7 separate regions of the Homo sapiens genome follow, and all the other regions are linked to region 5. The links are contacts of gene promoters, found by promoter capture Hi-C in blood cells and fetal thymus (Javierre and others, 2016). All regions are on one chromosome and are shown on one strand. Each heading gives the region's core, a stretch centred on a gene start or on the middle of the fragment in contact. The rest is flanking DNA. Distances are from core to core; before and after follow the strand shown. Region 1 holds the start of FAM186B (family with sequence similarity 186 member B). Region 2 holds the start of DDN (dendrin). Region 3 overlaps PRPF40B (pre-mRNA processing factor 40B). Region 4 overlaps KMT2D (lysine methyltransferase 2D). Region 5 holds the start of TROAP (trophinin associated protein). Region 6 overlaps TMBIM6 (transmembrane BAX inhibitor motif containing 6). Region 7 holds the start of FMNL3 (formin like 3).

The links. The method cuts DNA at HindIII sites, captures the fragments that hold promoters and counts their contacts. A CHiCAGO score of 5 or more calls a contact.
Region 1: a contact is called between a fragment that was not itself captured here and the fragment with the promoter of TROAP in region 5, in 2 of 17 cell types (endothelial precursors and M0 macrophages). The highest score is 11.1, in endothelial precursors.
Region 2: the fragment with the promoter of DDN here is called in contact with the fragment with the promoter of TROAP in region 5 in 1 of 17 cell types (neutrophils); the score reaches 5.1 in neutrophils.
Region 3: a contact is called between a fragment that was not itself captured here and the fragment with the promoter of TROAP in region 5, in 2 of 17 cell types (endothelial precursors and M0 macrophages). The highest score is 9.3, in endothelial precursors.
Region 4: a contact is called between a fragment that was not itself captured here and the fragment with the promoter of TROAP in region 5, in 1 of 17 cell types (neutrophils). The highest score is 7.2, in neutrophils.
Region 6: a contact is called between a fragment that was not itself captured here and the fragment with the promoter of TROAP in region 5, in 2 of 17 cell types (endothelial precursors and erythroblasts). The highest score is 6.4, in endothelial precursors.
Region 7: the fragment with the promoter of FMNL3 here is called in contact with the fragment with the promoter of TROAP in region 5 in 1 of 17 cell types (endothelial precursors); the score reaches 8.7 in endothelial precursors.

The regions. Positions count from the first base shown.
Region 1 is chr12:49,605,630-49,608,555 of GRCh38, reverse strand. FAM186B (family with sequence similarity 186 member B) reads left to right here and starts at 2,917. Exons shown (of 7, transcript NM_032130.3): 1 at 2,917-2,926. The HindIII fragment of the contact is 845 bases long and covers 1,071-1,915 here.
Region 2 is chr12:48,997,965-49,000,839 of GRCh38, reverse strand. DDN (dendrin) reads left to right here and starts at 1,465. Exons shown (of 2, transcript NM_015086.2): 1 at 1,465-1,761; 2 at 2,174-2,875. The coding sequence starts at 1,553. DDN-AS1 (DDN and PRKAG1 antisense RNA 1) reads right to left here and starts at 2,493. Exons shown (of 2, transcript NR_147179.1): 1 at 2,150-2,493. RefSeq lists enhancers at 800-1,094, 2,764-2,833 and silencers at 1,240-1,534, 2,184-2,643. The HindIII fragment of the contact is 4,772 bases long and covers 912-2,875 here.
Region 3 is chr12:49,626,894-49,629,644 of GRCh38, reverse strand. The region is part of intron 1 of PRPF40B (pre-mRNA processing factor 40B); the gene reads right to left. Among named protein-coding and RNA genes, the nearest start is that of PRPF40B, 4.7 kb to the right of the region's middle. The HindIII fragment of the contact is 1,865 bases long and covers 349-2,213 here.
Region 4 is chr12:49,024,471-49,027,515 of GRCh38, reverse strand. It overlaps KMT2D (lysine methyltransferase 2D), which reads left to right. Exons shown (of 55, transcript NM_003482.4): 49 at 194-1,334; 50 at 2,570-2,706; 51 at 2,808-2,938. Among named protein-coding and RNA genes, the nearest start is that of PRKAG1, 7.2 kb to the right of the region's middle. The HindIII fragment of the contact is 8,267 bases long and covers 1-3,045 here.
Region 5 is chr12:49,321,623-49,324,504 of GRCh38, reverse strand. It overlaps TROAP (trophinin associated protein), which reads right to left and starts at 1,250. Exons shown (of 15, transcript NM_005480.4): 1 at 1,156-1,250; 2 at 753-901; 3 at 468-660. The coding sequence starts at 896. TROAP-AS1 (TROAP and PRPH antisense RNA 1) reads left to right here. Exons shown (of 8, transcript NR_120449.1): 1 at 1-13; 2 at 166-358. RefSeq lists enhancers at 1,027-1,176, 2,318-2,537. The HindIII fragment of the contact is 3,639 bases long and covers 1-1,648 here.
Region 6 is chr12:49,743,008-49,745,855 of GRCh38, reverse strand. All of the region lies in intron 1 of TMBIM6 (transmembrane BAX inhibitor motif containing 6), which reads right to left. Among named protein-coding and RNA genes, the nearest start is that of TMBIM6, 2.9 kb to the right of the region's middle. The HindIII fragment of the contact is 1,355 bases long and covers 744-2,098 here.
Region 7 is chr12:49,705,717-49,708,858 of GRCh38, reverse strand. FMNL3 (formin like 3) reads left to right here and starts at 1,454. Exons shown (of 26, transcript NM_175736.5): 1 at 1,454-1,804. The coding sequence starts at 1,679. It overlaps LOC124902929 (a long non-coding RNA gene), which reads right to left and starts at 1,133. Exons shown (of 3, transcript XR_007063299.1): 1 at 1,020-1,133. RefSeq lists an enhancer at 871-1,020 and a silencer at 1,041-1,810. The HindIII fragment of the contact is 3,771 bases long and covers 822-3,142 here.

The sequences.
Region 1 (2,926 bases), core at 244-2,743, 280 kb before region 5:
CACTAACAGCCCCAAATCTGCCATCTTGGGGAAAAAAAAGGTTTTTGGTTTTTTTTTTTTTTTTGGAGACGGAGTCTTGCTCTGTCACTCAGGCTGGAGTACAGTGATATGATCTCAGCTCACTGCAACCCAGGACTCCTGGGTTCAAGCAATTCTCCTGCCTCAGCTTCCAGAGTAGCTGGGATTACAGGTGCACACCACCACACCCAGCTAATTTTTATGTTTTTAGTAGAGACAAGGTTTCACCATGTTGGCCAGGCTCATCTTGAACTCCTGACCTCAAGTGATCCACCCGCCTCAGGCTCCCAAAGTGCTGGGATTACAGGCATGAGCCACCGCACCCGGCCAACTTTTTTTTTTTTTTTAAGGTATGAAGTCTTGCTAAGTTGCCCAGGCTGGACTTCAGCTCCTGCAGTCAAGCAATCCTCTTGTTTCAGCCTCCCAATCAATTCATTTTCTTTTATGTCTATATTTGTGAGCAATATTAGTCTGTAGTACTTTTTTTTCTTTTCTTGTCATGTTTTTCTGGTTTTGGTACCAAGATAATGCTAACCTCAGCTGGGTGCGGTGGCTGATGCCTGTAATCCCAGCACTTTGGGAGGCCAAGGTGGGTGGATCACCTGGGGTCAGGAGTTTGAGAGCAGCCTGACCAACATGGTGAAACCCCATCTCTACTAAAAATACAAAAATTAGCTGCGCGTGGTGGCACGCACCTGTAGTCTCAGCTGCTAGGGAGGCTGAGGTGGGAGAATCACTTGAACCCAGGAGGTGGAGGTTGCAGTGAGCCGAGATCACGCCACTGCACTCTGGCCTGGGCAACAGAGTAAGACTCTGTCTCAGAAAAAATTAAAAAATAAAATAAAAATAATGCTAACCTCATAAAATGATTTGAGAAGTGTTCTTTACTATTCAATTTTTTGAAAGAGTTTTTATAGAACCGTATCTTTTTTTTCTTAAATGTTTGGCAGAACTCACCAATTAAACTATCTGGGGCTGGAGTTTTCTTTGAGGGAAAGGTTTTTTATATTATGAATCCAATTTCTTTAGTAGATTTACGGATATTCAAAGCTTTTTTTTTCTTTAGTGAGCATCGATAGGTTACGTATGTTAAAGAATTTGCCCATTTCATCTAATTTACCAACTTTATTGGCATAAAGGTTTTTCATATTGCTCTCTCATATTATTCCCACTGTAGAGTCTGTAGTCTCTTATTCTTCATATTGTTAGCTTGTCTTCTCTCTTTTCTTCCTGGTAAATATGGCTAGAGTTTTATCAATTGCATTAATCTTTTCAAAACATCAGATTTTAGTTGCATTGATTTTCTTCTATTTTTGTTTGTTTTCTATTGGTCTCTATTCTTATTCTTATTATTTCCTTCCTTCTGCTTATTTTGGGTTTTTTTGTTCTTCCTTTTCTAGTTTTTTCCTCTAAGCACTGATTTGGCAGCATCCTCAAAATTGTGATATGTTTCTATTTTTGCTCGGTTCAAAGTATTTCATAACTTTCCCTGTGATTTCTTTTTTGACTCAGGGTTATATGGAAGTATGTTGCTTAATTTGTAAAATATTTGGGAATTTTCCAAAGATCTCTCAATTATTGATTTATAGTTTAATACCATAGTGGTCAGAGAACATATTTTGTATTATTTTAGACTTCTTAGGGTAATTGATACTTGTTTTATGGCCCAAATTATGGTTTATATGATCATTGTTCCATATGCGTAGGGAATAATATGTGTCCTGTTGTTGGGTGAAGTGTTCTATGACTGTCAATGGAGTCAAGTTGGTTGATAGTATTTTTCAAAACCTCTATACTTTTTATTTTTTGCTACTTCTATCAACTCCTGCAAGAGAAGTGCTGGAATCTCCAACTATAATTTTGGATTTACCTATTCCTCCTTTCAGTTCTGGAAGCTTTTTACTTCATGTATTTTGAAGCAATGTTATTAGGTATATACACATTTAGAATTATGTTCTCCTTATTAATTGACATCTTTAGCATTATGGGATGTTCCTCCCTCTGTATGTTTGTGTGTGTGTGTGTGTGTGTGTGTGTGTGTGTGTGTGTGTCAGGGTATCTATCACCTAGGCTGGGGTGTAGTGGCGTGAACATGGCTCACTGCAGCCTTGACCTCCTGGGCTCAAGTGATCCTCCCATCTCAACCTCTCAAGTAGTTGGGATCCCAGGCATGCGCCACCATGCCTGGCTATTTTTTAAATTTTTTTGTAGAGCTAGGCTCTCACCATGTTGCCCAGGCTGGTCTCAAACTCCTGGGCTCAAGTGATCCTCCCACCTCAGCCTCCCAAATTGTTGGGATTACAGGCGTGAGCCACTGAGCCTGGCTTCCATTTGGTTATTGATTGGCTCTAATTTTTACAAATTTAAAATATTTTATTCAGGAAAATAACTTTTGCTAATTGCTTTTTCTTATTTGTAGACATTAATGTTTTGTTTGGGAGCATAACATTTAGTAATTTTTAAAAAGCAACAAGTAGGCCGGGCACGGTGGCTCACACCTGTAATCCCAGCACTTTGGGAGGCTAAGGTGGGTGGATCACGAGGTCAGGAGATCGAGACCATCCTCGCTAACACAGTGAAACCCCGTCTTTACTAAAAATACAAAAAATAAATTAGCCAGGCGTGGTGGCACGCACCTGTAATCCCAGCTACTCAGGAGGCTGAGCCAGGAGAATCACTTGAACCCAGGAAGTGGAGGTTGCAGTGACCGAGATCACACCACTGCACTCCAGCCTGGGCTACAGAGGGAGACTCCGTCTCAAAAAAAAAAAAAAAAAAAGAAAAGGCAACAAGTCAAGTAAATATATGTTAGGTAATGGACAAAAAGCTAGATAGTGGGGAGTCTCATCTCCTAATTCTTCTAATCAAACTGATGATGTCACTGGGGAAAAGAGGATCAGTTGGAACC
Region 2 (2,875 bases), core at 216-2,715, 320 kb after region 5:
CAAAGGGCTCCATGTACATTAGTGGAAAACTAATTGGGAACTCTTGCTTCTCCCATTTCCCTCTAAAACCCAACCTATCCGTCTCAGTGTGAGGATGAAGCTGAGGGAGAGACAAGGGATGAAATTTGGGAGACTCACAAGCTTCTATTCTTACCTATTCCTCTCCAGAGAGGCAAATTATCCCTTCTTCCCGAGGAACCATGCCCCACACACTCTCCCCTCTCTCTGCACTGCTCCCCTCCACTGAAGCTGCTGCCATGGTTGCCAGGCATGGTTGCTAAGTCTCTGCATGGAAGGGTTGGCGTGGGCTGTGCTGCCACTAACATTACCATGGTGAATCAGGGGACACCTGGTATAAGCTTAGGAGGAGGGATCATGTGGATATAAGCAACAGCCCCCCAGGACAGAGGCAGCCCAAAAGGTGAGCATCTGGAGCACCACTTAAGGTGGGGACTGAGTGAACTAGGCATTGTGGTGGTGGTGAGGGGGAGTTCTACATTGAAAAAAATAAAGGCCACTTTTATCATTTCAGTTGCTAGGGGATTAGTTTTGCCAAGCAAACACATCATTTCTCCTCCATCCCCCTCTGGAAGGGTGAGAGTGCATAAGCACTTACTCTGTCCTCCATAAAGCTGGGCAGGCTGTGTGGGCACAGAACAATATAACCCCCAAATCCTGGCTTCTGGATTGGAGGTGAAAGCCTGCTGCTGTGGGAGGGCTCCCTGGCTGCCCAAGGACAAACATGTAGAATGGAACTGGTAGGGCAGCTTGGGTGGCCAAGGCAGACGCCTGTGTCCTGCTGTACCAGCAGTCCTAGGCTGCAGCACTGAGCTGACAAGGAGATACGGGTGTAGGGGTCACCCTTTTTGAGCTTAGGGAAGGCAGCTCTCCCTCAGAGTCGCACAAAAGCTTGGTAAAAGCCACCGCCTCCTCTCTCCACCGCATGGGAGCTGGTTACTCATCTCATCTCTGCACCCGAACAGCCACTGCCGCTAAAAATAGCCCCCCAGCCGTGGGCCAGCCCCTCCTGCACCCCAGCCCCATGGAAACCAGCAGAGTGGCAGGCAGAGACCTTGAGTTCCAATCTCATCACTCTATGTTGGGGAAACTGAAATCTGAGGCAGGAAGCCAGGGGCAGAACCCTGGTGGTCAGGCAACCTGACAAGCAGGAGAGTAAAGGGTTAAAACGGCAGGAAGGTTGAAGAAATAGGGGCGGGGGAGGGGGCACTGTCAGCTTGGCAAGAATCATAAGTCCCTCCCCCGCCCACTCGTGCGATCCCATCAGGCTTGGGGGACAACAGCAGTGGGAAGGGGCGTCCAATCCCGGGCCCCAGGGGGCGGCCGTGCACATGGGGGAGGTAGCAGCGCGGAGCAGTCCGCGCGGTGTCACATGCGCGCGCACACACAGAGACAGGCACACACACGTGTGCCCGGGTATATATAGTTCCCAGTCCCCGGGCCCGCGGCTCTGCAGTGGGCGCCGGCTCCCTGGGCTGGGAGGGGGCTCCTGGGGCGGGTGGGAGGGTGGGGGGCCGGGGTGGGGTGGGGCAGGATGCTGGATGGCCCACTGTTCTCCGAGGGGCCTGACAGCCCCCGGGAGCTCCAGGATGAGGAGTCTGGCAGCTGCCTCTGGGTGCAGAAGTCCAAGCTATTGGTGATAGAAGTGAAGACTATTTCCTGTCATTATAGTCGCCGCGCCCCTTCTCGACAGCCCATGGACTTCCAGGCCAGCCACTGGGCTCGCGGGTTCCAGAACCGCACGTGAGTGAAGCAGGGGTGAGGGGAAGAGAGTGGTGGGGCGGGGAGTGGGGTCCGGACCTCCCCGCAGGCACCAGCGAGCACTGCTGGTCCCCCTTCTCTTTCCCACGCCTTCCACCTCTGCCCGCTCCCGAGGGCTGGGGCCTGACTCATCCCGTTGTTTGGGGGAACAGAAGTGGGTGTGAGAAAGGGCAGGAGGTGAGATGGGGCAGACGCTGTTAAAGTGTGCATGGAGAGATGGCGAGGAGTCCCGCTTCGACTTCAGTCCTAACATATACGCACGTGCACACGCGCACACACTCACACACACCCCTTCACATGGCTGCCCCAAGTGGTCTCCAGTGCTCCCAGCTCCCCGGACCTCGGCTCCCTTCCCCCACAAACTGCTCACCTGGGTTCCTGCTCATTGTCCCAGGTGTGGGCCGCGCCCGGGATCCCCACAGCCGCCGCCCCGCCGGCCCTGGGCCTCCAGGGTGCTGCAGGAGGCGACCAACTGGCGGGCGGGGCCCCTGGCCGAGGTCCGAGCTCGGGAGCAAGAGAAAAGGAAAGCGGCGTCGCAGGAGCGGGAGGCCAAGGAGACCGAGCGAAAAAGGCGCAAGGCTGGTGGGGCCCGACGGAGCCCCCCGGGTCGACCCCGCCCGGAGCCCCGCAACGCCCCTCGGGTGGCCCAGCTGGCAGGGCTCCCTGCTCCCTTGCGGCCGGAGCGCCTGGCGCCTGTGGGGCGAGCGCCCCGTCCATCCGCGCAGCCGCAGAGCGACCCAGGGTCGGCGTGGGCGGGGCCCTGGGGAGGTCGGCGGCCCGGGCCCCCAAGCTACGAGGCTCACCTGCTGCTGAGAGGTTCTGCCGGGACCGCCCCACGACGCCGCTGGGACCGGCCGCCACCCTACGTGGCTCCACCTTCTTACGAAGGCCCCCATAGGACCTTGGGGACTAAGAGAGGCCCCGGGAACTCTCAGGTGCCCACTTCATCAGCCCCAGCTGCGACTCCAGCCAGGACAGACGGAGGGCGCACAAAGAAGAGGCTGGATCCTCGGATCTACCGGGACGTCCTCGGGGCTTGGGGTCTCCGACAGGGGCAAGGTCTCTTGGGGGGATCCCCAGGCTGTGGAGCGGCCAG
Region 3 (2,751 bases), core at 32-2,531, 310 kb before region 5:
ACAAGAGTGTAATAACATTCCATGAAGACAGGGATCATATCTGACTTGTTGGAAGCTGTATTCCTGGTACCTACCAGCATCTGGCACATAATAGGTATTCAGCAAATATTGAACGAACGAAGAACAAACAGAACAAATCTCTATATAGAACCTTCTACTTCTAAAAATTAATTTTATAGGTATAGCCCTACATGGCCAAAATGCTGTATGTTTAAGGTTTTCATTTCAGTATTATTTGTAAAAACAGAAGATTGGAATCAGCCTAAATAGCCACCAGTAAGGAGCTATGAAATTATATATACACATAAAATGCAGTGCTATACAGTTATAAACAAGAATGAAGAAGCTTATTGTCTCGATATGATCTCTAAGATGTATTAACAAGTGGGAAAGAAAGCAAGGTGCAGCAAACTTTTATCATTTGTATAAAAGTCAGAGACAAAAGATGATACACAAGAAATGGTAGAAAGGGACAGAGATAAAGGGGAGACTTTTCCCTGTATGGCTTTTGTATCTTTTGAATACGCAGCCATATGACTATATTGCCCATTCAAAAACAAACAAACTCACTGTAAGTGAACCGAGGCTTGGAGATGCAGCTAAAGGGCCCAGCCCTTCTGCCTCTTTGCCTGAAAGTTAGGGGGTGATAGGGAGGAATCCCGGGGAAAGGTGGTATCTGGCTGAAGAGAAGGTACCTCACTGCTGCCAATTTCCCCTATGTTGAGAATGCTCAGCATTTAAAAACGCCCTTCATGTCTGCCTTTAAAATATCTGTTCCTGGCTGGGCACGGTGGCTCACACCTGTAATCCCAGCACTTTGGGAGGCCAAGGAGGGCAGATCATGAGGTCAGGAGATCGAGGCCATCCTGGCCAACACGGTGAAATCCTGTCTCTACTAAAAATACAAAAACAAAATTAGCCAGGCGTGGTGGCAGGCACCTTTAGTCCCAGCTACTCGGGAGAGGTGGGAGAATGAGGTGAACCCAGGAGGCGGAGTTTGCAGTGAGCCGAGGCGCCACTGCACTCCAACTCCAGCCTGGGCGACAGAGCGAGATTTCGTCTCCAAAAAAAAAAAAAAAAAACTGTTCCTGGCCTGGTGCGGTGGTTCACGCCTGTAATCCCAGCACTTTGGGAGGCCAAGCGGGCAGATCACCTGAGGTAAGGAGTTCGAGACCAGCTTGGCCAACATGGTGAAACCTCTACTAAAAATACAAAAATTAGCCAGGTGTGGTGGCACACGCCTGTAGTCTCAGCTACTGGGGAGGCTGAGGCACGAGAACTGCTTGAACCTGGGAGGCGGAGGTTGCATTGAGCTGAGACTGCACCACTGCACTCCAGCCTGGGTGACAGAGTGAGACACTCTCAAAAAGACAAAACAACAACAACAACAACAAACTGTCCTTCATCTTGTCCTAAGAAGAAAAGGGTATGAGCTAAACCTCTCCAATGTGACTCATCTTTTCTAAGTGCTCAACTGCTTTAGTTCTGTATTCAGACTTGCTCTTGCCCCTGACGCTTTCCTCAGCATGGGAAGTCAGAAACTAATCAATAGTGGAGGAAATACAATTTTCTGTGTCACACTTTCCCATCTCAAGCTGCCTCAGGAGCCTCTCTAACATCTTTGGGTCCTACCAGGCTCCAGGGGAGCCTCAGAAGCGTCTCAGAGACTGGCACCACACCATTCAATTGTCCAAATGGAAACCTATGAGTCACTCTCCACAACTCCCTCTTCCTTGCCAATAAATCACCAAGTCTTGTTAACTTTACCTCCTCAAGATTTCTTGAATCTATCCATTTCTCTCCATTTCCTTTTCCACCACCCATCTTGCCCAAGCCACCATCTTTTTTCATCTAATTGCAGTGGCCTCCCAACTGTTTTCCCCACATCCACTCCAATCAGCAGCTATAACAAGCTCTTCAAAGTGCACCTCAGACTGTTAGCCCCCTGCTTAAAACTCTTCAATGGCTTCCCACTGCTCTTAGGGTAAATAGTAAACCCCCTACCCAGTACTATGAGGGGGTCTGCTACCCAGCTACCTTGCCAATCTCCCCCATGCTGAGCTCCTGGGTCTCAGTTCCAGCCCTACTCACCTTCTCTCAGCTCTCCCACCTCAGGCATCCACCTTTGCCTGAGAAAACTGGGTTGGCCCTGCCAACCCCACACACCTTGCCTACTACACTTCACATCTACCAATCATTTCTTCACGAAAGCTTTTCCCAACTCCCTGAACTAGTCAGAGCCCGCTTTTATATACTTGTACAACACCATGTACCTTCTCCTTCGGCAATTATCCATTAGAATTTTATAGTTATTTGTATAATCCTGATTATATTATTTTTCTATTTGGCATGAATAAAAAACAAATGCTGCCAATTAAATTATAATATCCTGTCAATTTGAAGATGCATCCTGACTTGACAAATGTTCAAATATGAGTCTCAGAATTAATGAAATATAATATCCGTGGCCCCTACTAGACTGAAAACACTGAAGGGCAGGGACTTCATCTGTTTTTGCTCACCTCATATCCAGTTCCCATTGTGTTTTCCTTACCACCATCTATGGGTACAAACTAGGTGCTAATAAGTATGTGTTAACTGAATGACTAAATGGTCTTGGCAAGTCCTACAAAACAGTAGGGGGCCACTGGTAAGTTAGGTCTAGTAGTTATTCAGGGAACATAGAATGTCAGAACTGGAGGAGACTCTGGCAGTCACCCAAGGTATCCCCCTTTTTCAGGGAATAATCTG
Region 4 (3,045 bases), core at 360-2,859, 300 kb after region 5:
ATTGTGCCACTGGATCCAGCCTGGGCAACAGAGCAAGACTGTGTCTCAAAAAAAAAAGAAAAGAAAAGAAAAAAGAGGCTGTCTAGGGCAAAGAATGTGGAGGCCTTTTGGGAGGGTGGCATATGGGTGAGGGGAAGGAGGGAGCTAGTTAGATGAGGAGCTGGCACTAATGATACAGGGCACCCTCCTACAGGAGAGCCCCGCCCCAGAGCCACCCACTCAGCACAGCTATACCTACAATGTCTCCAATCTGGATGTGCGACAGCTCTCGGCCCCACCTCCTGAAGAACCCTCCCCGCCCCCTTCCCCCTTGGCACCTTCTCCTGCCAGTCCCCCTACTGAGCCCTTGGTTGAACTTCCCACCGAACCCTTGGCTGAGCCACCCGTCCCCTCACCTCTGCCACTGGCCTCATCCCCTGAATCAGCCCGACCCAAGCCCCGTGCCCGGCCCCCTGAAGAAGGTGAAGATTCCCGTCCTCCTCGCCTCAAGAAATGGAAAGGAGTGCGCTGGAAGCGGCTTCGGCTGCTGCTGACCATCCAGAAGGGCAGTGGGCGGCAGGAGGATGAGCGGGAAGTGGCAGAGTTTATGGAGCAGCTTGGCACAGCCTTGCGACCTGACAAGGTACCGCGAGACATGCGTCGCTGCTGTTTCTGTCATGAGGAGGGTGACGGGGCCACTGATGGGCCTGCCCGTCTGCTGAACCTGGACCTGGACCTGTGGGTGCACCTCAACTGTGCCCTTTGGTCCACGGAGGTGTATGAGACCCAGGGCGGGGCACTGATGAATGTGGAGGTTGCCCTGCACCGAGGACTGCTAACCAAGTGCTCCCTGTGCCAGCGAACTGGTGCCACCAGCAGCTGCAATCGCATGCGTTGCCCCAATGTCTACCATTTTGCTTGTGCCATCCGTGCCAAGTGCATGTTCTTCAAGGACAAGACCATGCTGTGTCCAATGCATAAGATCAAGGGGCCCTGTGAGCAAGAGCTGAGCTCTTTTGCTGTCTTCCGGCGGGTCTACATTGAGCGGGACGAGGTGAAGCAAATCGCTAGCATCATTCAGCGGGGAGAACGGCTGCACATGTTCCGTGTGGGGGGCCTTGTGTTCCACGCCATCGGACAGCTGCTGCCTCACCAGATGGCTGACTTTCATAGTGCCACTGCCCTCTATCCCGTGGGCTACGAGGCCACGCGCATCTATTGGAGCCTCCGCACCAACAATCGTCGCTGCTGCTATCGCTGTTCTATTGGTGAGAACAACGGGCGGCCGGAGTTTGTAATCAAAGTCATCGAGCAGGGCCTGGAGGACCTGGTCTTCACTGACGCCTCTCCCCAGGGTGAGCAGTGGGCCCTTGAAATGGATAATATGGAATGGGAAAAGTTTCTCCCAGGGTCACTGTTACAATGTCTATAAGAGGACCTGTAGCTTCTATGTGAATGATCCTCCTTCCCCCACCTCAGGCAGGCAGGGGGTCTCTTGAAAACTCCCAGTGAAAGTGTTTGAGCCTCTCTTGTCACCCTAAATTCCCTTGTAGTTGAAAATATTTTGCTGGTCTAATCTCACATATTCTAGTTCTGTTGCTATCCCCAGTGGAACAAAAGGAAACAGTTCTGAGACTATCATCTGCCTCACCCAACCTAATCCTAACCAAGTTCCTTGGGGTTGTTTTTCCCTGGACGAAATCAGAATTATTTTGATTTTAGTTTTAGTGTTAATGATAAAATAACAGTAAGAGCAGGTACCTTTTTTTGAGTGTGTACTGTGAGCCACAAACTAAGCTAAGTGATTTGTGTAGTTTATTTTGTTCATACAACCCTATGAGGTAAGTATTATACTACGATTATGCCCAGTTTGTTCATAAAGAAACTGAGTCTCAGATTTCAGTACAGTCGTGCATTGCTAAATGACAGGGATACATTCTGAGAAATGCATTGTTAGGTGATTTTGTCATTGTGTGAACTTCATAGAGTGTACTACACAAACCTAGATGGCATAGCATACTACACACCTAGGCTCTGCGGTATACCCCATTGCTCCTAGGCTACAAATCTGTACAGCATGTAACTGTACTGAATACTGTAGGCAGTTGTAACATACGGTAAGTATGTGCATCTAGACATAGAAAAGATACAGTAAAAATACAGTACAGTATTATAATCTTACCAGACCACTGTTGTATATATGATTCCTCATTGAATGAAATGTTGTTAAGCTGCACGTGACTGTATTTGGCTCAAGGTCTCATGACCAGTACTAGAACCTGAACCCAAGTCTTTCCAACTCCAAAGCATGCCTGCTCTTTCACTAGGGACCTTCCATGGCCTATGCTGGGTCTCCTGGGCCCTGGGTTTGTATCTCAAGGCTCTGTGATGACCCCTTGGGGTTGGAAACCTCCTGCTTCTTAAGAGAGAGTGAGACTAGGAGGCCAAGAGAGGATCTGGAAGACCAACACAACTTCATGATAGGGAGGCTTGAAGGCCTCAGAAAACTGCAGTTCTGGATTGGGGTTAGGGACTGGAGGTCAGTGAGCAGAAGTTGCCTCTGAGGACTGCTCTCTTCCCTGCTTCTTAGCCGTGTGGAATCGCATCATTGAGCCTGTGGCTGCCATGAGAAAAGAGGCTGACATGCTGCGACTCTTCCCTGAGTATCTGAAGGGCGAGGAGCTCTTTGGGCTGACGGTGCATGCCGTGCTTCGCATAGCTGAATCAGTAAGGAAGGGGCTGGGAGCTGGGGGGCTTGGCGGGCACTGAGAACTTTGGCCTAACCCCAAAAAAACTCAGGCTAAGGTGAGTATGAACTGTGCCCACAGCTGCCCGGGGTGGAGAGCTGTCAAAACTATTTATTCCGCTATGGGCGCCACCCCCTTATGGAGCTGCCACTCATGATCAACCCCACTGGCTGTGCCCGATCAGAGCCTAAAATCCTCACACACTACAAACGGTGAGCTTGTGATGCTGGAGCCAAGGGATGTGGGTGTGGGTGTTGACAGGGATCCTCTGGTCCCATTATGAGGATTTAGGATACAGATCAGAGTTCCCGTGGAGAAA
Region 5 (2,882 bases), core at 1-2,500:
AAACTATAGACAGGTAACAGACTCAAGCCAAGGTATATACATGTTATAAAAGAAGTGCTGCAAAGTATTAGGAGAACACAGAGCAACTGATTGTGACATGGGGAACTGGAAAAGGCTTCAGAAGAAGTGATATTTATTATTTATTTATTTATTTATTTTTTAAAGAGATGGGATCTCCCTCTGTCATCCAGGCTGGTCTCCAACTCCTGGCCTCCAGTGATCCTCCTGCTTCAGCCTCCTGAGTAGCTGTGATTACAGGTACAAGCCATGGCACCTGGCGAGATGACATTTTGCTGGAGGAAAGGGAGATCTTCTAAGAGCAAAGAGCTTTCCAGGAGCTGGGACCAGGACTATCACAGTAAGTAGGAGACAGCAGGAGTGAGTGCAAAACCCCAAAACCCCACTTTTACCCTTCCTAGTCCCCTACTCAGCCATGGAGGCCGTGTTACCATGGCTCCAACAGGTACCTGTCTGGGCAGGGGGCCCAGGCCCCACATTTTGACCCCTAGGGCTAGGCCTGAGCTCTTCCAAGGGGTTCCGAGGCTGACTGATCCCCACCAATCTTTGTGATGTCTCTGCCTGGTGCCTGGCTTTCGGCCTGGGGCCTGCTGAATCAACGAGGGGGCGTTGAATATTGAGCGGTGGTTTCTGCACCCATCTCTAGGGGAGGGAGCGGGGACAAAAAGGTGAGGTTTAGTGTTGGGGTGCATTACTGGTGTGACTACTGTCTTCCCCCATTAGGCCCCTCTTACCCTTGGATCTTGGTTCTCCTGGTCCACGGCGCACGATGTAACAGTGGGGAAAGGCGTGCGTTTCTGAGAGCGTACCGGAATCTTGCTAGGGGTAGGAGATACACCCCGGAGGAGGGGATCCTTCGTGGCTTGCCGGGTGGTCATGATGGCTACAATTGAGACGGGGAAGAAGGCAGGCAGAATCTAAGATCAAAGATCAACCAGTTCTCGGGGCACCTGTCCTGCCATCCCTGATACCTCCGCCCTAATCCACGCGCCCACAAGCCCCCGGCGCCTGCAAGACCGCTCTTATGGGTGCTATCTCCAGACACCCCGAGCCTACTCTTTCGCCCTCGGGCCCCAAACTGCCCTCCTCCCTATGAACCCAGCAGCCTTCGTTCCCTTCAAGACCCCCGTGCCTTACCTTACCGAGGCCCCTCAGGGCCTACCCAGCTTCCTCCGCTTTTCTCCTGACCCTCTCGGGTGCTGCTGGAGCTACTTTCTCAGTTTGTAAAATACGCCAAGCTCTTGATTGGCCCGGTCGCGCTCCCGCGGAGGCCCGCGTAGCCAGACTCAGCCGTCCAATCCGCGGGCATCGCAGGAGGGGCCAAAAGAAGGACCAATTGTCGAACCGCTTTCTGGCGAGGAAAAAAACTGACTCGGATCAATCAGCCAATCCGAGAGTGGAGCGCCGCTGGGAGGCGGGGAAAGAGGAAGGATGGGGCCGTTCCGAGGCCGGGGAAGGCGTAGCCACGGGAGCTCTCGCGAGGCCTCAGGACCGGCTAGGGGCCGGCCATTGGCAGGACCGGGCGAGGTCGCGGTACTGAGGGTACAGTTGATCGTTCCGATTGCTGCCAACGGTGTTGAAGGCTGGCCCGAGCCCCCGACCCGGCTTGACCATAGCACGGCGCCAAGCTTTGGGGACGCCATTCCAGATGCCCATAGAAAATATCTGCGTCCGGGCGCGGTGGCAGGCGCCTGTAATCCCAACACTTTGGGACGCCGAGGCGGGAGGATCTCTTGAGCTGAGTTTGAGACCAGCCTGGGCAACATAGCGAGACCACTCCCACCCGTTTCTCTACAAAATAATAAAATAATAATAATAATCCCTGTGCAGTGGTGCGCGCTTGTAGTCCCAGCCGCTCTGGAGGCTGAGGCAGGAGGATCGTGTTGAGCCCAGGAGGTTGAGGCTGTAGTGAGCTGTGGTCGCGCCACTGCACTCCAGCCTGGGCAACAGAGACCCTGTCTTAAAAAAAATAAAGAGGGAAAGAGAGAACATCTGTACGTTGTCTCCGGGATAAGGAACTGCCTTCAAACGGGCGGAGAGGGCTGGAGGGAATCGAACTGAGCCTAACAATATGTGTGCTCCTTGGAGCCTCACAATCCAGTGAGGTGTCTGATGAGGTGTCTTTCATTTTACGGGTAGGTAACAAGACTCATTGTTTTTGAACTCAGTTACCACAGCACCAGAATTGAATGGCTACTCACAGCTGGGGATTTCCTTGCCTCCAGGTTGCCTTTTGCAGATCTAGAGGTCTGGGGAGAGGGGGCTCACCTGCTGGTTATTGGTGGGCAAGGCTGTGAGACTGAGAGATCCTAGAATATCCTGCTTAAGATGGAAGGGGTAACCCCTAACGGGGGACAGGAAATGAACAACACTTAACAGAACTCTGGTGGATTTTCCCCACCAATCACAGAAGTTATTCTTACACAAGCCAGAAACCGAGGAGTTACTCCTTAACTCCTCCCACTCCCTTTACATATCCCATCTCTCATTCACTCTCACTAGTTTTACTATTTATGCATTTTTGGGACAGGGTCTCACTCTGTCGCCCAGGCTGGAGTGCAGTGGTGCGATCTCAGCTCACCGCAGCCTCGGCCTCCTGAGGTGGGAACCTCAGCCTCTCAAGTAGCTGGGACTACAGGTGCCTGCCACCAGCTAATTTTTGTGTTTTTTTGTAGAGACAAGATCTGGCTACGTTGTCTAGCCTGGGGTTACAGGCGTCTTTCCCAGCACTTTGGATGGCCCAGGTGGATCGCTTGAGGCCAGGAGTTCCAGACCAGCCTAGACAGTGTAGCAAGATCCTGTTTCTATAAAAAAAAATTTAAAGATACGTAAGGTATCTTTACTAATTGTATGCATCTTTAAAA
Region 6 (2,848 bases), core at 172-2,671, 420 kb before region 5:
GTTGGGCAAAACTATCTAACGCAAAGCCTACTTTATAATAAAGTGTTAAATATCTCATGTGAAAATATCATACCAGATATCCCTAGTCTGGGAAAAGATGGAAATTCTAAATGTGCTGGGTTTTTTTTTTTGAGACAGAGTCTCGCTCTGTTGCCCAGGCTGGAGTGCAGTGGCACGATCTCAGCTCACTGCAACCTCTGCCTCCTGGGTTCAAGTGATTATCATGCCTCAGCCTCCCAAGTAGCTGGGATTACAGGTGTGTGCCACCATGCCCAGCTAATTTTTGTATTTTAAGTAGATACAGGGTTTTGCCATGTTGGCCAGGCTGGTCTCAAACTCCTGACCTCAAGTGATCTGCCCACCTCGGCCTCCCAAAGTGCTGGGATTACAGGCATGAGCCACCATGCCTGGCCTGAAGTACAGTTTCTAGCAAACAGGTAGCACTTTTGCATCATTATAAAGTAAAAAATCATTAAGTCCAATCATCATAAATTGGGGCCCGTCTGTACTTTTGTTTAAATGGCATACCTTTCTTCTAGCACATTTATACTATCTCTCTTGTCCCACAGGGCCATGGACATTTTGAGACAGCCTAATAGCCACTAAGTGATAATCTGATATGGTAAAGGATTTGATGAAGTAAATGCGCAAAAGCTTGATGCTTTCCCTGCCACTCCCAGGAGGTAGGTCAGTTCAGTTTCGGAACCATCCAAGGAATTGTTTCATTCAACTAGGACCAAGCTTTGATCTTCCCAGGTGGACACCCTAGATGTCCCCGCCTCTCCCTTAACTTGGACCCAAATCCCTGGATTAGCTAATACTGAATCCATCTCCTCCAGGGGGCTGCCTCAAAACCAAACCAGTAACTGGAGATGAAATGCCTACTGCCTTCAGTAAATTATTTTTTGTACCAAACGTTGACACTACTTCATCTCCCTCTCTATAACGTTTGACAGATACTGAATCCTAAGAAGGCCCCAAAATCCTAAATACATAATCTTCTTCCAGTATAAACCAGTAATCCCTCCCTAATAACACCATATTTAGCCCAAATGGGGAGCACACATAAATTAAGACAAACAGCATACCCACTTCACCCTCACTGGTGAAGCTCCTTTTTCACGTGTTTTGGATTCCAGTTAATTGTGCAGAAACTTCTCACCCTGAGGGCAGAGCTTGCATCTGGTTCAGCTCAGCTATCCCCAAGATTTAAGCACTACAAAGTCTCTAGAGCAAATTTAGACCCTATTATCAGATCAAGAGTGCTGTAACCTCAAATCAACATTCCCCAGCTGGCTCAGAGTGGAACCTACCTCAAGGGGTCACTTAGGTAACCTTTAAGTCAAGGAGACAGCCTTTCTCTCCTTGGTCTCGAACACCATCTTTGGAAAACAAAATGTGTATAAAAACTACGAAGGGCTGCATGCAGTTTGGTTAGAAACTCTGGGGGAACAAAACAGAGTGGTAGAAGACATTTCTACCAGATTCTACAACCAGGTCAAAGTAGTAAAGGAAAAAAAATCAGAAGTTAGAGCATCAGAATATTCAATGGTTTCTCTAGAGAAAATTAATACCCTTGGGCAGTTTACGAAATAAAATGAAACTCGTCAGGCCAGCAGTAGTACCTTCTATACTAATACTCCTGACTATATTTATATAAAATTTATAACTTTTAAGGTGCTTTTATATATGTATCACCTTCAATCCTCACACATCAACCCACAAGGAAAGGGAAAGATTAGGCCCATTTTATACATCTTTTTTAAGTTCAAAAAGGCAATGTAATAGTGGCAAGAGGACAGGATTTGGTGTCACAAGTGCTGCCACTTTCTACTATATAACCTAGGAAAAATCATTTTACCTAAGGTTATTTCAGCTTCCTCATCTGTAAGATAACGATGATGATCAATACCTGCTCTACTGAATGCCAATAAGAAAATCTGTGTGAAATCAACGTAAAGTACTAAAACAAACATTAGTATTGATTTGACCAACATTAGAAAGTTAAATAGCAGAGCCAGAACCAGATTTGGGGTCTTCTGACCACTATAGTCTAGTGCTCTTTTTACTATTCCATCCTACAGTAGAAAAATAAGCTTTCATTTATATAAGCTTTCAAAAGTTTCAGCCATAGGTGAAAACAAATCTTTAAAACAAAAAAACCCTCCCAAAACATACATTGATTCCTATGACATTTTTCTGCATTTTCAGCATTTGTATAAAGAGCGCGAACTATATCTATAATCAGGGAAAATAACTTGAAAATGCTAAGTATCTAGATTAATTTTACCTTTTCTTATTCTTCAGGAGAGATGACTCTTTTTCTTTAGGAAAGGATTACACCTGTAATCCTAGCAATTTGGGAGGTCAAGGCGGGCGAATCGCTTGAGGTGTGGAGTTCGAGACCAGGCTGGACAACTTGGCAAAAGCCCGTCTCTACTAAAAATACAAAAATTAGCTGGGCATGGTGGTGCGCGCCTGTCATCTCAGCTGCTTAGGAGGCTGAGGCATGAGAATTGAATGCACCAGGGAGGCGGAGGTTGCAGTGAGCCGAGATTGCACCACTGCACTCCAGCTTGGGTAAGGGAGTGAGACTGTCTCAAAAAAAAAACATAATAATAATAATAAATAAATAAATCGCTTGAGTTCTGGAGTTGGTAAGCCTGGGCAACATGGTGATACCCCATCTCCACAAAAAATACAAAAATTAGCTGGAGCTGGTGACGTCCACCTGTGGTCCTAGCTACTCAGGAGGCTGGGGTGGATCACCTAAGCCAGGAGAGGTCAAGGTTCAAGTGAGCCATGACTGCGCCACTGCACTCTAGCCTGGGCGACAGTGAGACTCTGC
Region 7 (3,142 bases), core at 205-2,704, 380 kb before region 5:
TCCCAAGTAAGCAACTCTATTTAAAATCTTAATGCCTCTTCCATCTCTATCACCTTTCAGTTTTATTTTTATTAACACTGATCACTAACATCTATACATTTTACTCGTCTAGTTTATTGTCTACCTTTCCTTCTACACAGATTGTGAATTCCAAGAGGACACAATGTATATCCTGTTTGTTCGCAGATGTACCTTCAATGCCCAGAATAGTATCTGGCATAGAATAAACTTTCTAAAATAAATATTTGTTGAATAAATGAATTAAAAATCTAGGTGATAACTTCAGGCATGGTTAGATCCAGGTTCTTGGCATGTCATTAGAATTTTGTCCTGTCTCATAGCTTTTCTCTCCTCTGCGCTGGCTTCATTCTCAAGCAGGCTTGATGTGTTACAGGTGATGATAAGACGGCCACCAGCGGCTGCAGGTTTACATTCTAATAATTTTGCAGCCTAAATGGAGAGAGAGTGAGTGCCTCTTTCCTGATTGTTTCAGAGAAAGCCTTGGATATATCATATTGTCTGGGCTTGGGTCAAGTGACAATCCCTAAAACAGTGTCCATGGGTAGAGGAGGAAAATGTTGTGACTGACTGGGCCTGGGTCATGCGGTCCTTTGGAACTGGGGATAAAATTCAGCTCCATTTAGACTGAGAAGAGGGGAGAGGTGGTTTCCTAAAAGAAAAGGGGGTGCTCTCACTGGAAGAAGATGGCGGCTAGACAACAAATTTCCACCGCAAATGTCAACGACCCAGCCGCCGACTGAGCCCAGAACAGCGTTCTTCTCCCGCCTCTCCATTTTCACACGCAGCCAGATGGTTAAGCTTCTCTCCTCCCAAACGTTTTTTCCCCTGCCTCTGTCGGGTAAGGGCTTCCTCATCCCTCAATGCCTGGTCCAACTATGATCTCCCTCACCCCGACTCTTAACAGGTACTATCTCTCTCCCTCTTCTGAGTATCCTGCTTGTTTCTACTTCTCTTGTAGTTAGTTTTGTACGCCATGCCTTGTATAATATTTTACTTACTTGTATACATCATGAGTTCCTTTTGAAAAAGGGTACGGTCCATTCCCGGTGTGTCCACGCCAGCCCCTCACGCCCTCTGGGAACCGCGGTGATTCGATGCCGGCTGAGGCCGCCAGGGAGCGCTCGGCGCCCGGCACGAGGCCGTCAAGGGCGGGAGGCGCTGTGATTGGCAGACGCGGCCGTCAATCGGGCGCAGGTGGGGCGGGCCGGGCCGCCTGTGAGGCCTCTGGGCGGGAGGCGGGGCCTGCATGAATGGGGCGCGCGTCGCGCGGGCTGCAGTCGGCGCTCGCGGGGGAAGCCCGAGTCTCGGCCGGGTGTGGGTGGGAGGAAGCGAGGTTGGCGGGGGAAGGGAAAGAGCGCGGGGGGCGGGGAGGGGCAGCGCCCGGGCGGCGCGCCGAGCGCGGCGAGGCGGCGGGTGTGAGCAAGAGCCGGCCGCCTCCGTCCGCCTTGCTTCGGTGCGGCTGTCCGCTACGCTGCCTCCGCCCTCGCCGCGCGCCCCCGCCAGCGGGACTCCAGGGAACCCCCGGCGCCCTCGACGGGGCCGAGGAGTCGGGACTCGGGGAGCCGGCGCTGAGGGAGGAGCCTGGTCGGAGCCGCGGAGCCGAAAGCTCCGGAGCGTGGAGGTGGGGGGCCGAGGCCCCTGAGGGGGCCCCGCCGCGATGGGCAACCTGGAGAGCGCCGAGGGGGTCCCGGGAGAGCCCCCCTCTGTCCCGTTGTTGCTGCCGCCCGGCAAGATGCCGATGCCTGAGCCCTGTGAGCTGGAGGAAAGGTTCGCCCTGGTGCTGGTGAGAGCTGAGCCCAGCCCCTTCCCCCGCGTACCGCCCCTCAGGTCCCGACGCCCGGGCTGGGACTTTGTGCTGGGCCCCCGTCCCGCCCACCCTTTCAGTCGGGGTCCCGAACGGATCCCGGCCTCCAGTGTCTTCCCAGGAACCTCTGAGCAGCCGCTGGCCGGCCCGGACAGCCCCGTCGGGGATCTCGGGACCGACGCCTCCACCGCTGGACCCTTAGGAGAAGTCCCCAGTTCGGGACCGTCCTAGGAACCAGGCTTCTCCCTCCTTCTTCCTCCCCCTTCTGCTGCCCTTTTCCCGTTTCCCCGCTTCTTCGCCAGGCTCCCCGTCCCTAGCATTCTCAGCCCGGAGCCTCTCGCGGGTGGGGGGAATTCAGAAGCGCGGCCGGCTCGCTCCTCAGCAGGCTTCCCTGAGTGGGGACACCGCCTCTCCTGCGAACATGGAGGCTTCCCAGGGAGTGGGTCCCACTCCCAGCCCAGACCAGATGTTTGGGGGGAGAGGGGGATGGGGAGGCGGCTGGCAGCTCCTGAAGGGGGTGGAATAAAGAGTATGCCATTCTGCTTATTTTCAGAACGGCCTGCAGGCATCCTGCTAAGTTAGAGTGGATTTGCCTGAAAGGCTGAACATGTGGATAAACCATTTCACTGGGGTATTTCTCCAAGTGAAACAATACACAAACCATCCCGCCTCCTCCCCCCCTTTTCACGTTAAGCCATAGTGACTGGTTTGTGTTGTTTAGCCTGTGCTTTTTAGTCTTTCTGTGGGTTTCAAACGGTCTGTATAAATGGGTTTTTAGAGCTGACTTTGGGATTCTTCTTTGGTGTGGGAATTGGACATTGATGTCAGTGGCTCTATGAAGCGAGAGGTTCTGAGCTGGTATCACCGGGAAGGAGCCAGAAAATATGTTTGCGCTGAAAATGAAGTTTTGCAGAGCGAAAACATTGGTAAACCGGGGTTAATCTTTGAGAAATTTGGGGAAATAGTTCTCACTTCCCCAAAGAGTTTTCTAAGAAGCAGTAATAATTCTGGCGTTATTGTTGGTATGGCCGACTCTGCCTTTGCCTCTGCCCATCAGGAGGGATAAGTTGTGGACTTAGCAGCCTTATTGGATTTCATCTGCCTTGGAATAAGGAGATTAGATCTGTTGGCAACAGTGGAGCTGTCTAGAGATCTTGGCCTCTCCGATGGTAGAGAATCTGACATCAGCCCACTGGCACCAGAGCTGGCTCAAAGAGGGTCCACAGTGTTCCAAGGGGAAGTGGTGTCGCTGGCACCTCTCTGCCCGCCAGCTCTGCGAAGGGCCAAAGGGATGTGGGCCATACATCCTGTGGCCCT